Linked DNA regions of Homo sapiens: region 1 is linked to region 2. Evidence: promoter capture Hi-C in human tissues and cell types (Jung and others, 2019). All regions are on one chromosome and are shown on one strand. Each heading gives the region's core, a stretch centred on a gene start or on the middle of the fragment in contact. The rest is flanking DNA. Distances are from core to core; before and after follow the strand shown.

Region 1 (4,064 bases), core at 1,239-3,738, 300 kb after region 2:
AGACTGAGTGTTTTAGGGTGGGAGCACAGAGAGGAATAACATTGTGAAAGTGCAACTCAACTCAGAAGAGATTTTAAAAATGAGGCTTTGTTGCTTTCCAGGGAGGAATATCTAGGATGCCAGCAGGCTAAGGCTTGCAGAAATTCTGCCTTAGTGAATAGCTAAGATCGTCTCACAGTTAGCCAAGCAAGGAAGTCTGTCCGAGCATCTTTCCTCTCTTGGCATTCCGAGCTCACAGCTCATCTGGCTTCCTCTTGATTTCTCAGTACCCTCATGGTTAGTCTTGAAAACCATGATAACAATTATGTATTATATGAAAATTGTCATCTATTATAGCTATATAATATTATTATAATAACAATCATTTATTGAGCACTTGTTATGCAGCTGACATTGTACCAAACTCCTTATCTTTTTCATCTCATTTAATTGTTGGCCATCCTCACAAAATGGGTTCTGTTGTGACTTCATTTTCCAGATGGAAAAACTGATGTCTGGAGGTTAGATGACTTGCCTGGGTCACAGGATGCAAGTGGGTGAGTCAGGAGGCCTCTTCAGGCTGAAGTCAATGTTCCACCTCCCAGGACTTGGGCCTCTCCCCTCGCTGGATGCCCCCCTCAATTCAGTAACCGCACTTTAACCTGCCTTTTGGGCTCATGAGTGATCAACTTCAACCCTCTTTCCTGCTCTCCGCGCCACCACATCCCACACTGCCCAGCTCCTTTCTTGAGCCAAACTGTCTCAAGCCTGCTTTCCTGTGACTTTACCTCTGCGACCACCTTTGCTTTCCCAGGGAGACGTTTCCTGTCCTTCCTTTGGCCTCTGGACTTCCGCCTGTCAAACTCCACCCATTGGTCAAGGTCCGTCTGAGATGCCAATTCCTTCCTGAAATGCCCCGTATTCTTTGGCGGCCCCTGGCCTCCTCAGTCTCAGAAATGTGTGTTCACCTTGTTTCTGCTTACAGTGGGGCTCAAAGTATTCTGCTACAGCACCCCCTCCTGGTTCCCAGAGGTAAATGCCCTGCCACTCCGGAAAGGGACCTCAACCTGTTCTAGACAACCAGGGCGGCATTTTTAAATGTTTTCTATTCTGTCCTTCAAATGGACAAAAATTTCTATCCTGCGCCAGGAAGAGTTTACACTTGTTTTGATATCAAAATAATGTTATTTTCCAAAATCATTAGGTGAGGTTGAGATTTCAGGAAGACGTGCTTTCCTGTGGTGGGCCCTTCCTCCATCCCACTGCCAAGTACTAAAAGGAGAGGCACATCCAAGTTTAAGAAGCAGGTGAGCAGAACACAAAGTCCTCAAAGGCAAAAACTGCCTCTCGCCCTGCCTCACCAGCGGGTGTCGACTGTAGAAAGAATGAACTTTATATTTGCTCAAATGGATTACACGTTAACATCACCTCTTAAAGGGTCTGAAAATCATTTATTTCTCAGCAGATGTGGGTTTTCCTTGTGATCAAAATGACTTGATTAATTTGCTCAATGAAGCTATTTTTTAGAGCTGGTATGAGCCCACCAACATAGTTTATGTTCCCAAGTTCTAATTTGTGGGGTCCCTAGGAAGTTCTGTCGCTTTTCCATTTCAGAAATCTACATGTGCTGGAAACAGAGCCAGACCACATTCTTAAATCGCTGCATTTGTCACAGAGCCCTCCCACCTCCATATTCGTTGCCTTTCTCTTGCTGCTGAGATTCTAAGAGACCCGATGTTAACCTAACTCTGACGTGGCCCTGCTGTAGCTCAGCCTGTCCCCTCCTTGCTCTTGGGGCACCACAGGCTAAATCATTTCCTTTGGGCAAGAACTCCCACTTTCTCAGAATAATTCCTCCTGCCAGGGCATGGGGGCTGTGGCTGGAGCCACAGAGATAGAAATCTCTGTGTGATTGGGTAGCAATGATTTTATCTCCATGCCTTCATCTTTGCAGCAACAAAACTGTTATAACAAACCCACATGGTTGGCATGGCATGGGCTGGATTTCCCGGCAGGCAGCTGGTGTACTGGGAAGAGTTATGGAGATTGATGCCTGTGAGGGATGAGGAGCAGGGCTGACCAGGAGAGAAGTCTGACTGTGATGCAGTAGCAAAACAGATCCAAGCTGATCTTCCGTGGAGCTCTGGTGCTGGGATGGTCCTCAGAGTTGTCCTCCATTGAAGCTTTTGTACCCCACAGTGAGTGGTCCCCAGGAAGGGGGTGTTTGCTTGGGTTTTATGGTTCTCTTTAGCCTAAGGCAATGGAAAGGAGGCTCTGCTGTGAGCCACCAGCCTTGAGGGAATGAGCGTCTCAGTGCTGGTGGGGGGATCTGGGCATGCTGGGCAACGTTAGCTACAATACACAGCTGCCCAACCTCATGGTGAACAGAGGCCATGAGCTCCCTACAGCACTCCACCGCATTAATAAGGACGAATAACTAGGAGCCTGCTTATCCCAAGAGTACAACATTTTCATAATAGAAGATGTCACTTCACTAAAATCTTAGACATCAGGCACCTCAGGGATTGCGGAGAAGTTATAGATGGGGGCAACCCAAGAGAGGCGTGAATTTTTTGAAAAATGGTAATTTGGGATAAATGGAAGAGTCAAGTCTCACTGTTCCTTAGTCAGGAACGCTTGTCACAAGCAAAGGCCTGCTCAGAGAGCCAGTCCCTGAACCCCAAGCCCAGGCTTGATTTGTAAGGGACTGGGCCCATTCCCTGAGGGAGCTCCTGGTGAAAGAACATGTTCAGAAGGCAAACAAGGAAGGGGAAAAACCACACTCAGGACAAAAAAGCATAACAGTAAACACAGAAGTAAAATATCTTCTTCTTTCTGGCAAAGGAAGAGCTTGATGTTACAGTGGGTTTAGCCAGAACAAGCCGGTGATACCTGTTTAGCACAGGGCCCAGCATTTCAAGAGGACTGGGCCTCAGGAAGAACCATAGTTCTCCCATGGTACAGGAAAATACCTGGCCAGCTGTGGATTGCCGTCTTCCTCAGCTTTCTGAAACTGGAGAGCGTATAGCTGTCACTCACCACCTCCATCACTCATCTTCTATTGGCAACAGACGCTGCTAACCCTGTTTCCCTAGTGAGTGTCACTTCAGGGTCTTGAATGCAGCCCTGTGAAGTGCTTCTGAACCAAGGAAGAACATGACAAGCTAATGGAAACTCAGAAAAATAGGGCTGTTTTCTTCTCGAGACTCAATTTAAGATGGCTTGATTTGTACATATTTCTATTGGCAAATCATTCACTGCATGTTTAACAGATGTCCTATAAAAGAGACACAAAGGCCGGGAGCAGTGGCTCACGCCTGTAATCCCAGCACTTTGGGAGGCCGAGGTGGGCAGATCATCTGAGGTCGGGAGTTCGAGACCAGCCTGACCAACATGGAGAAACCCCATCTCTACTAAAAACACAAAATTAGCTGGGCGTGGTCGTGCATGTCTGTAATCCCAGCTACTCGGGAGGATGAGGCAGGAGAATCACTTGAACCTGGGAGGCGGAGGTTGTGATGAGCTGAGGTCATGCCATTGCACTCTAGCCTGGGCAACAAGAGAGAAACTTCGTCAGAAAAAAAAAAGACACAAATTAAAATGTATTAGTTTTTTAAAAGTATAGAAAAATAAGCAGGGCATAGTGGCTTATGCCTGTAATCCCAGCACTTTGAGAGGCTGAGACAGGAGGATTTCTTGAGGCCAGGAGTTCAAGACCAGCCTGGGCAGCATGGCGAGAGAAAAAATTAAAAAATTAGCCAGATGTGGTGGCGTGCACCTGTAGTCCCAGTTACTCAGGAGGCTGAGGTGGGAGGATGGCTTGAGCCTGGGAAGTCGAGGCTGTAGTGAGCTGTGTTTGTGCCACTGCACTTCATCCTGCTTGACAGAGGAAGACCTTGTCTCAAAAAAAAAGTATAGAAAAATAGTGTAATGAGAATAATGGCCAGTGATTCAGCATCTCCTGTCATCAAGTGTTTTCTGTGGTTAGGTGATTTGGCCCTGGCCATGACCCTATCATATAGATGAAAACACTGAGGTCCATGAGATCCATGAGATTAAGCCTCAGGAGGTGGAATCCAGAACAT
Region 2 (4,406 bases), core at 1,786-4,285:
AAAAATGTTCTAACAATGAAGTGAAACACAATGTTTCAGCCCCAAGCTGTAATTCTAAAATCTCAAATGTAGAAGAGGTTTAGGGTCTCCGGTAACTATTTGTTTTGATCATTTGCAAATCATGCTTTATCCATGTTATTTCTTTAATTTTCATTAATTATTTATAAGCACAAATTCGTCAGCTTTTAGTATTTTTAGTCCACTACCAGTCATTTATGAGTAAACTGAGCTGTGTTGTCACATCATGACAATTAGTATTTTAAAAACACATCAAGCCATGTATAAACTTAATGAAAAAGAAATGACCACTTGACTTTTAGAAAAAAGAACTTGTTTCTTTTAAGTTATATTTAAATATCCATTAGAAACATAGGAAATATAAATCGGCATATTAAAGAGTAAATACATTATTTGTACAATAAAACACCAACAAAACCAGTGCAACTCCTAAGTTCTAAATATGGTGGAAAAATTATATTGTAGTTACTTATTCCTTATATCTTGATTACAATTCAATAAATCACCTTTCTTCTTCTTGTCATGCTTTGAATATAGATTAATTGATGTCAATTTTAGAAATTTTACTTGTTTGTTCTAGTACTTTATCAAGGTATTCAAATTCAGACAAGAAAATACCTCAAAGAGAGTAAATACCATGTTTACAGAAGGATAGGGTTATTTATTTTCTCAGTTGATGTTGGGAGACCAGATTTCATATACAAATAGTATACAACCTTTCTTATGGTGAGCTGCATCTTAGGGGGGAAAATCCTCTTTTAGCGTAACATACAAACACTCACTTGCCAAATAATCATCAAAACATTTTGAAATCAGCATTAAATTTAAAAAGCTCCATCAATCCATATAATCAGTATTTTATTTTGATTCCATTGCTCTATTACCTAAATGGCAATAATTCCTCTGCAATAATGTTGCTATGTGTATGATCCACCTTGAGCTACACTTCAATTTACTTTCAATCAAACATTAATGAAATTGCACTTAGGGGGCCCTTCGAAAATTAATCTCCCAAGATAAATTCCACTTCAAAAAGGACTGATTGTTAAAGCTGGGTTGATTTTTATAGTTACAAACGCCAACAAAGTTTCCAACTTTGAGAGCTGTAGTTAAGAATGCCGTGTGAACTTCTCCACCTTTTCGCGTCATTTAAGAACTTCTAGGAGGAGAAAATCACCACCTCAAAGCCTCGTGGCATAATGTTACACTACTCGGTTTCCGGGCTGTCGCTGTCCCCCGCCCCCAGCAAGAGGTTCACAGCCTGCTCCTCTCTGAGACCGGTTCGTTTTGAATCGCAGTTTACACGCGCGAGTCGGTTTTCGCATGCCTCCCCCATCCGTTCTAGCAGTTTCTTGCAGACCCTTCGGGTGCACCAGGACCTAGCCCCGGGGCGCCCTCGCTGTCACCACGTCCTGCCATAGAGCAGGTTGGCGCCCAGGACGCCGCCGCTGTACTCCCCGGCGGCCGCGTCCAGGGCCGCCAGGCCGCCCCCCGGGCCGTGCAGCGCGGGTGGGCTGGGCGACAGCTCCTCCAGCTCAGGTGCTGGCGTCGGGGCCGGCGGCTGCGGACCGGCCTGGCCGGGGGTGGGCGTGCTGGCGCCGTTCTGGCACGGCTTGCCGTCCTTGACCAGCACAGGCACCGCCACGCGGCGCGGGGACGGCGGCGGAGGCGGCGGCGGGCCCAGGCCGCCCTCCTGCTGCAGCTGCTGCGCCGCCTTGTCCTTGGCCTGCCGTTTCATCTTGTACCGGTGGTTCTGGAACCAGATCTTGACCTGCGTGGGCGTCAGGTGGATCATGCTGGCCAGGTGCTCGCGCTCGGGCGCCGACAGGTACTTCTGCTGCTTGAAGCGCCGCTCCAGCTCGTAGACCTGCGCCTGCGAGAAGAGCACGCGGCGCTTCCTTCGCGGAGCGGCTGCCGCCGCCGCCGCGTGCAGCGGGCCCAGCGACTTGGCGGCGTCCGCGATGCCGGTCAGCGACCCCATGCCGGCCACATTCACGCCCGCCGACGGCCCCATGAACCTGGAGACTGGGGAAGAGTCCCAAGGGGGAAGGCGAGTGAGCTCCAGGCCCGCCGGGAGCCGGTCCAGCCGCCGCTCTCTTCACGCCGCGGCCGCGACGCCGCCGGGCCCTCGCTGAATCCCAAGACCCCCTGACCGCCGCGGCCTCCGGCCCCAGCACGCCCCGCGCGCCCTCGGCGGGTCCCAGAGCACCACGCCCTCAACGGGTCCCAGGACGCCGCGCGCGTTCCCGGTCAGGTCCCAGGACCCCCCGCGCGCCCAGGGTCCCCAGAAACCCCGCGCGTCCCGGGCCGCGTCCCAGGACGCCCCGCGCGCCCGCTCGGCCCCAGGACCTCCTAAGCCGCGCGCACCCCGTCCCGCGCCCCCGCGCCCCTCGGCTGTGGCGGGAAACGCCTGAGCCGCCCGCAGCCCCGCGCTCCTGGCCCCTCTCACTTGACGAGTAGCGTGGGTCCGGGTTGGCGCCGTACCAGCCGGTGGCCGCGCCGCCCCGCATGCCGTCCGTGTAGGCGGGCAGCTCGCCCATGTTGCCCAGGCCGCCGTTGCAGTAGCTGCCCATGGCGCCGTGCGGGAACTGCGAGACGCCGGGCGGCATGTGGTAGGTGGCGGCCGCCGCCGCCGCAGCTGCTGCCGCCGCCGCCGCGGCCGCCGCGTTGTGACCCGCCATGGCGTGAGAAGGCTGCATGCCCGCCACGGTCGCCGCCTGCGAGGAGGGCCCAGGTGGCGGCGCGCGGTAGGCGGCCGCGGCCCCCAGGGGCGCCCCCAGGCCGGGTGGCGCGCCGTCCATGGCGCCGCTGAACTTCTTGTAGGTCTCCTCGATGGGGCTCAGGATGTCGGACACGGAGAAGGGCGTCGTGTGCTTTGGGCTCAACGACATGGCTCGGCGGGCAGCCAGGTAGGGGGGCCTGGGGCGCGCGCCGGCAGGACGCGGCGGCCGCTCGTCGCCGCCACCTCGGCCGCGGCAGCTGAGCCTGTGACGAGGAGTCGGCGGCTCGGCGAGCCCCCCGGGCTGCGGGATCTGGGGTTTATTTTAGTCCGGCGCCAGGTTTACGACAGACTCGGGGGGCGGAGCAACATCCCAAACGAGCAAACAATGGTCATTGACATCTTTTTCTCTCGCCCCCCCAACCCCCGCCCCATAATGGAGGCAAAAAAAGGTAAAAGGGGCAGTTGGGTGTTTCTTGGAAAGATCACTCCCCGTTGCTTTTCCCATCTTTGCTTTTCCCATCCTTTGCTTTTCCCATCCTTCGCTCCTCCATCCGCGGCCGTTACCCCAGCCCTCGAGCACCAGAAATAGAAACTCGGAGGCTGGCGTCGAGGCTAGACATGGACTCCGCGCCTGGCCCCTTCCAGATCCCAGTTTTCTAAAGTGACTTCGCACCAAAGTCCGGTATAATTGCGGAATGGGGAACGTGCTGCTAAGTTTGGGGGGAGGGTGTTGCGGGGGCTTGCTTCGTCCTCTCCAGTTATCAGCCCCTCATTCGCTCCATCACCTAAAGTGTTAAAAAAAAAAAAAAAGGCTCTTGGGTCCCACCGTAAGAGCGCATAAAGAGAGGAGGTACAATGACCGTCCTTTGCCATTGTAGGGCTCCCTAATTTATGCGTTTTTAGACCCTTAAGCATCATTTTGTGGGCAACCAAACGGGCACTTCCAAATTAGCTCAAAGTATCCAAGCCCAGAGAAGAGAGAAAACACACATACACTGATAAATACGCAGATGCTAACTTGTAAGTATTCTGTTTTTCCTCTGTGGGGATGGAAATTGAACAAGGGAAAGAGGGGGAACATTTTTATTTCCTAAAATGTTTCCTACTGAGTTTGCACTTGTAAAGTTTTTTCTGCTTTCTTTCCCTTTGTGTGTGTTCTTACTCTCTTTCTCTCAGTAAATATCTCTGACTTAAGTTTATTCTCCCATCACTACCGTGATCAAAAAGAAGAGAAAGACAAAATATCAAAACTTCCAAATATTTCTAGTTGTTCGCAACGGGTCTTTTTGTTGTTGTTGGAAAAATATAACCTGTTCAAGCGATATGAAAATGGATGCAGAAATCAGGTGAAAATTGTAGTTTCTTTGGAAAAATACAAAACCATAGATAAACAGATTTTTAAAACTTTGTCATCCTTTGACTTGCAGTTTTACCCGAATACTTAGACATTATGAACTCTCTACTAAATACTGAACAAGACAAAGCATAAGACAAAAGCAGTGTGCAAAGCATATTGATTAAATTTTGAAAACAATCTTGCAGCAATAATAATGATAACGAGAAAACAAAGATAACACTTTTAAGTTTTCCTGGAAACTGGAGCAGGAGAAAGAAAAACAAGGAGAGTGCTTTCTTAAGCAATATTTTGTTTTATTTTTTTTCCAGA

Evidence for each region. Contacts are between HindIII fragments. The study calls those that stand out against the background at their distance.
Region 1: a fragment that was not itself captured here is called in contact with the fragment with the promoter of NKX2-4 in region 2 in 1 of the 25 tissues and cell types used here (mesendoderm cells).

The regions. Positions count from the first base shown.
Region 1 is chr20:21,692,525-21,696,588 of GRCh38, forward strand. The region is part of intron 1 of LINC01726 (long intergenic non-protein coding RNA 1726); the gene reads right to left. Among named protein-coding and RNA genes, the nearest start is that of LINC01726, 9.0 kb to the right of the region's middle. The HindIII fragment of the contact is 5,954 bases long and covers 1-4,064 here.
Region 2 is chr20:21,394,491-21,398,896 of GRCh38, forward strand. It overlaps NKX2-4 (NK2 homeobox 4), which reads right to left and starts at 3,036. Exons shown (of 2, transcript NM_033176.2): 1 at 2,468-3,036; 2 at 875-2,043. The coding sequence starts at 2,909. The coding sequence ends at 1,421. LOC105372558 (a long non-coding RNA gene) reads left to right here and starts at 3,444. Exons shown (of 4, transcript XR_001754528.1): 1 at 3,444-4,086. The HindIII fragment of the contact is 9,137 bases long and covers 1-4,406 here.